Linked DNA regions of Homo sapiens: region 1 is linked to region 2. Evidence: promoter capture Hi-C in human tissues and cell types (Jung and others, 2019). All regions are on one chromosome and are shown on one strand. The core of a region is centred on a gene start or on the middle of the fragment in contact, and the rest is flanking DNA. Distances in the headings are between cores, read along the strand shown. Region 1 overlaps POGLUT1 (protein O-glucosyltransferase 1). Region 2 holds the start of PLA1A (phospholipase A1 member A).

What was found. Contacts are between HindIII fragments. The study calls those that stand out against the background at their distance.
Region 1: a contact is called between a fragment that was not itself captured here and the fragment with the promoter of PLA1A in region 2, in 2 of the 25 tissues and cell types used here (H1 embryonic stem cells and spleen).

What each region holds. Positions count from the first base shown.
Region 1 is chr3:119,489,968-119,493,413 of GRCh38, reverse strand. POGLUT1 (protein O-glucosyltransferase 1) reads right to left here. Exons shown (of 11, transcript NM_152305.3): 9 at 2,696-2,863; 10 at 1,840-1,896; 11 at 1-1,132. The coding sequence ends at 976. Among named protein-coding and RNA genes, the nearest start is that of TIMMDC1, 6.9 kb to the left of the region's middle. The HindIII fragment of the contact is 5,887 bases long and covers 1-3,446 here.
Region 2 is chr3:119,596,286-119,599,591 of GRCh38, reverse strand. PLA1A (phospholipase A1 member A) reads right to left here and starts at 1,707. Exons shown (of 11, transcript NM_015900.4): 1 at 1,606-1,707. The coding sequence starts at 1,678. RefSeq lists an enhancer at 839-1,028. The HindIII fragment of the contact is 21,246 bases long and covers 1-3,306 here.

The DNA of each region.
Region 1 (3,446 bases), core at 774-3,273, 110 kb after region 2:
AAGGGAGGCACTCCATCATGGATTTGCACTAAAACAAATATCTTCTATATATTTGAAGTTGAATGCTCTTAACTACCAACTGAATGGCACGTTCACATATGAAGACTTCTTGTGATTCCTGCAAGACAGTGAGAGTGTGAATGACCCCTGCTGTGGCCAATTTAAGAAGGAAAAATATTAAAGGTATGCAAAGGGTGAGGAAGAGCTGCTGTTCTATGTATAGTTCCATTAAATTTATTAAGAGGCTTTGTCTTTTTTTTTTTTTTTGGCTTTAGAGAGGCATTAAGAAGTAGGGCATGAAGGCACAAAAAGGGAACCTGAAATCCAATTGCAATAATTACTCATGCAATTGGCCTCTTTCTATGTGGCATTATAGAAACCTCCTGAGTAACACAGTTTATGGTTTTACAAAAGAGAACTCCTACATCATTGCATGGCATGGCTACCGCTTCCTTAGACCATTCAGAGAATGATCCCCAAGTATTTTTCATAAACCCCATAGGGTTTCCTACATTAAAATAAAGTGACAGAGATCACGCCTTGAATAATTTCACAATTCCAGCAATGAGTTGTACTACTTCCAAATGACGAATTTTCTGCTCCAAATAATGGGACAAAGGGCATCATCACATGGACACAGTCAATTTCACAGTGATGGACTCACACAGGTGGATGATCTGAGGCACAAGCTGTGATTGGTCTTAAGAAAATGAAAGGTAGAGTTGGGTTCAAAATCCACATCTCACGATTTCTGGTCCTTATTCATCCAAAAAGTTGAACTGCTTCATATCAGTGTATTAGACACATTTTAAATCTTTCTCAAGAGTTGCTCTGGGTGCAGCATGATAAGGAAAACCAGGTATTTGGCTTGATAGCAGATATTCAAGGTATAGGTGCCAAGCTTATGGTAAGCTTCTCACCGTAGGATATCTGAGATCTGTTGCCACAAAGAGGACTATGGTCCTATGATGACTACTATAGTTCAGTTTTCAACATTTTGGGAATAATTTGATCATAACCTTTCCTTCTCGTTACATTATAAGACAGGAATTTAGAGTATTCACTCAAGAGGTTCTCCCAGTAACAGGTGATGTCATCCATCTGCAAATGGTTCCTAATAAACTGGCTTCCCCTAGAGACAAGATTTAACAAGAAAATGTTAAAGCACAGAATTTAATGATAATAGCAGTCTGCATTTGAGTGCTCACCTTGTGCCAAGCATTATTCAGCATTTTATATAAATTAATTCATTTGAGCCTCAAGAACCAACCCTATGGCAATCATATCCACATACATGCATGTAGCAATACAACTTAACAATCTTTTTCCTTTATTTATTTATTTATTTATTTATTTTTTGAGACGGAGTTTCGCTCTTGTTGCTCATGCTGGAGCGCAATGGTGCGATCTTGGCTCACTGCAACCTCCGCCTCCCGGGTTCAAGTGATTCTCCTGCCTCAGCCTCCCGAGTAGCTGGGATTACAGGCACGCACCACCACACCCGGCTAATTTTTTTGTATTTCTAGTAGAGATGGGGTTTCACCATGGCTAGGCTGGTCTTGAACTTCTGACCTCAGGTGATCCGCCCACCTCGGCCTTCCAGAGTGCTGGGATTACAGGCGTTAGCCACCACGCCCGGCCCATCTTTTTCCTTTAAAACAAGCATATGTAGACATGTGTGTATGTTTTCCCCCAGGACAGGTTTAGTTCTGAATTATCTCCATATAATGAGGATAAAATACAGATGTCACCATGATAACAATATTCAGATAACTTTGGCTAGGGCATAATGGGGATGACAAAAAGTAAAGTGGAAAAGGGAAAATGAACAGAACTCACCTTTCAGCAATCTCTTGAGCTACATCATCATTTGCTTTTACAAATTGTAACAGCTCTCTAAAATGAAAAGAATTTTAGACTGTGAAATATAGACCAACTTCATTGGCACTAAGTCAGAAAGACGATATAGATTGAGGTCTATGGATAATTTTAGGTATGTGGATGGTGGATTATTTCCTTCAAGCAAAGATATCAGGGTTCTCTCAAGAACAAAATAATAACAAAAAAAAACCCCCACACACTGATTAAAGATACCCTATTGTAGATTTGGGACATATTTGAGAAAATACAGAAGTTACCTTATATATTTACATATATTTTGTATATTTATATTATATATTATATTAGATATTTATATTATTTTACATATTTATATATAAATATATTTATATATAGAAAAAAAATATATATACACAGATATCACCATGATAACAATATTCAGATAACTCTGGCCCTTCTCTATACTTCTTCCTAGCTCCTCCTGTCATGAAAGGAAATTTGCTGAAGCTTCACTTGAGTCAATTCTCATGCTGTATCTGAAAATCCTTTTGACAATATAATAAGATTGAATATCCCTATCTTTAGTCTTGGAGAGATTAGAGCTTTTTAACTTCATTTTGTCTGAACGTTTCATTTGAAACCAGTATTAAAGCGCTTTTTCAAATTAAATTCCACTTATAGCCTACTTGGATAATAATGCAATACTATATATGCAAACCAAGAGGAAAAAAAGCTTTCAATGGAAAAAAATCGTAGGACTAAATGTCTTACATGACTGGTTTTAAGGCATTAAGGCATTTTTAAAAGCAGATTGGAAGGGTCTTTAGAAACTCTGCATTGGGGGATAACTGCTTACTGGACATTGGAGAGATCTGTTTTGACTGGGATATAGTGAACCCATGGCTTCAGCTGTGGATAGAAGAATTCTAGCCACTCATCACCAACATGGAAAACAAGTGAGCCACACAGGAAGAGGTGTTTAAACCGGAAACTTGCAGCTACGCCTCGAAAATTAAACAGATACCTGGGGAAAAAAGAACAAAATACATTTGATACTATATGCCTGCTGCCACAAATATGACCTTTTATGCTTATTCTCCCCTCCCCTTCTTTCCTTTTATGATTCCTCTCCATTCTCTTTCCACTTTGAGTTTTCAAGGACACATTAATATGTTCCTAAGTGGTTTCTATCAGCCACTTTACCAGGGCTAGGACTACAGGTTGTTCTGGGAATGGCAGGGTGAGGAAAAATAGGGGATATTTTCTCCAGACAGCACTAGATAGGGTCAGGAGCTGGGTGCCGGGTAGAGTGTATACAGGGCTCAGAAGGAAATGACAGCTTGTAGATTTGGAACATATCTGAGAAAATAAATGTTCAATGGTAAACATAAAATAAAACGAGTGAAAAAAATTTCACAAGCTTTTCTAGGCCTAATGTCTCTAACTAGTCATGGCCTCCCAAAGCCTTGTTTTTCCTCTAGTGTACCCCATCTGGTCGAAGGTCTCCACTGCTTCCTGGACATCACCCTCTTCTCTTAAAGTATAGAGCAGCGGTCCCCAACCTCTTTGGCACCAGGGACCAGTTTCATGGGAGACAATTTTTCCAT
Region 2 (3,306 bases), core at 458-2,957:
CTGTGTGACAGAGGCCCCAGGCTTACCGACAGATGAGCTTCCAAAAAGAGTTTGATGCCAATTTGCTATAGTCCTCCCACTCCTCAACCTTCAAATCAGGACAACTAGCAAATGCCTTCCAGCCCCTAAGGAGGCCTGGGGCTCCTGAGCAGGGACAAAGTGGGCCTGCCAAGCCCACTTCTCAGAACGGGACCCACAGCTCTCCTAGGTGATACCTCCCACCTTCTCTCCAAGGTGGCTCATGACAGCCCTGTTCCCTCCACTTCCATCAGCCTAGACAACAATTTGCTAATAATAAAATCACAAAGGAATAAGCAACTGCAAAAGTCAGGCCCTGTGCACAGATGATCCCATTCAGTCCTTACAGCATTCCTATCTGGTAAGGATCATCTCTAGCTACAGGTAAAGAAAGCCACTTCCTCAAGGTCACATAGCTACAAAGAAACAGAGCCAGGATTCCAGTCTGGGTTAGCCCGACCCAGACAGAGCCTATTCCCCATCAGCTCAGCCCATTGCCTCCTCTAAGCATCAATGTCTGCAATATTCACTGGACATCTGCTCTATACAGAGCACAGCACTAACTATGCTAAAAGAGACAGAAGCCTCAAATCCTCACCTTTTAGGGACAACTAATTGAGGTAGGAGAAAGCACATACAGAGCTCAACAGCACCTCTGAAAAACCACCCATGAGTGCAAGGAGAGCATGCAGTCACCCAGTGGAACTTTGTAGCAGGGAGGGGTGCTGAGCAGAAAAAGAATGAGTACAAGGGAGATAGGAATACAGAAGCCCCCTTGAAAGATGCAAAGAACAGAAATCAATCCAAAGGTGATGTGAGCAACCCCAGGCAGAAGCAATGACATATTCTAGAGCCAGGGAATGAGAATTAAATGTCCAGCGGAGAAGACAGAAAAGCAGCCTGCTATTGTGAGTAGAGGGAGGGGATTTTTCTAAGGGTGACCTCACCATAGTGAGAAGGAGTCTTCTGAGAACTTCTGAGAACCCAAAGTAGAGCAGGTTAATTTTCTGTTAGGCAAGAGGGATCAGTGGGTCAGTTCTTTACTGGGGGAAAGGTAAATGCAAATTGGCATCTGAGGGAAGTTTTCCCAGGGGCATCTGAGGTTAGCAGGGACTAGTTCCCATCACCCAGCCAGGATGACAAACCACTTGAGTTAGGTTGCTGGATTAGAAAGGACATCTAACAATCTCAGTGACAAAATCATTATTAGTTTGGAAAACCTAAATTTTAAAATTAAATATATCTTGGAATGGTGGATATTTATGGGGTGAAAAATGAATATCTTAGAATTAACCAAATTTTATTTTCTTACAGTTGGTCCTGGCTTGTGCAAGGTGAGAAAGGGTTTTTTTATGTGGGCTTTAGAAAAATGAGTCGGATAACCAGGGAAAGTTCAGGTTTTGTGACCTGTTTACCATCATTCCGATTATGATAAAAGGGGTTTTTTTCCCCTACTGTTTTAAATTCACCTCAGAAGAGGCAAAAGGCTTTTAGGGGATCTTCCAAAAGTTAGTACTGCATAAGTAGTTGGAGAAATATGATCACTGACTGAAATAAGTTCCTCCCAAGGCCTGAGCCCTGGCTTACCTGAACTTCCAACGCTGAGCCACAAAATGAGGCCCCCCACCCAGAAGCAGCTCTCCCAGGGACCTGGGGGCATCGCTGAGCTGGAAATCTCAGAGCTGGTATGGAGTAATTCCCTAAAGCCAAAGAGATCATATAACCCAGCCTCTCAGAAAACACCCACGTGGATTTCACTAATCATTAACTAGCCTCATGACCTGAAAAGGAAAAATAAATTCTTCTTTATTTATTTAAATGCCAGAGTTTTCGGTTTCTTCTTCTCAATGAAAATAAATACACTTTCTTTTTTGTTAACCAGAGTGCATTGAAACACACTGTCCCTCTTTGAGCCAAACATGATCAGGAAACTATTTCCTGCACCTCTCCCACTTCCCGTGATAGGATGTTAGTAATAACCAAGGCAGAAGTCCTGCATCTCTGGGTGGCCAGAAACCCCTCATTGTGTTGGAATTATCTGTGGACATGTGTGTCTCCCTAGAAGATTCTGAGTGACTTGAGAGCAAAGGCTTTCTCTTTTCATTTTTGAATACCCAGTGCCTAGCACAAGACTGAGATAATACTATATATTAAGTGTCCATTTAAAGGGAAGAAGGGAAGAAAAAGTTTCCTCTGGAGAGTACTATCATTTTGTAGAATCTTGGGGCTAGGAGTCAAGTCCAACTTTGGAGATGTTCAACTTCCTGAATTCACAAAGAAACTGCATATTAGAAAAAGAAAATGACCTGTAGAGATCCCGTTGGTGGAAGTGGCAGAGCCGGGCCTGGAACCAAGATGGTTCCAGCACCATATGGCCTCTCCACCCCAAAGAGTGGCAGAAACCACAAAGAGCTATTTCTAGGCAAGTCAATGGGGCAGAGGCAGAGGGCAGGGCACTTGCCCCCCACTCCCTAAATCATAACACATTGCTGTGAGGTAGACAGCCCACTGGCAGGGCCAGGATCATCTTTTCCAAACAATAACTCTCTGAGGTGAGTATTATCACAGAGAAGTTAAGTAATTTGTACAACAAATTACTTATTTGTATTATAATTGTATACAAATTACTTAACTGTGACAATTACACAGTTAGTAAGCACAGATAAGTACAAATTACTTCTCTGTGATAGAAGTAATTTGTATTAAATACAAACATTTGTGTTTTACACAGCTGGTAGGGCACAGAGAATTTAAGTCATTTGCCTGAGGTCATGCAGAGCTGGGATTTAAAGCGGGATGAGCCAGCCCCAGAATCCATGCTCTGAGCAACGATACTCTACAGCAACAACTCCTGAAGAGGCTCTGGGACCATGTCATCATGGCTGAACGCAGGATACAATTATTTTGGAGGGGCTAGCCCTTACATCCCCTTGTGCACATGATCTCACTGCTCAAGTGCTGCTGCAACCAGGAAGGGGTGTGGCAATAAGTAGTGCACAGCAGAGGTCACTACTGAAAGCTGTCTTGATATTAGAGACCAAGCCAAGTGTATGAGTTCAGGTCCTCGGAGAAGAAGATGCCAAGGTAAGACAAGATATGCAAGAGATTTATCGAGCTAACACCTGTAAAGAATAAGAGGTACTAGAGAAGCCAGGAAGCGCCTTTAGATGGTGGTGAACATCTGATACCTGTGAAAGAGAATGGGCAGGAAAGAGAGGATTACATAGGAAGAGTCTCAGGCTGCAGCACAGTTTCTAGAATATTCTGACCAGGCCAATGGGGACTCCT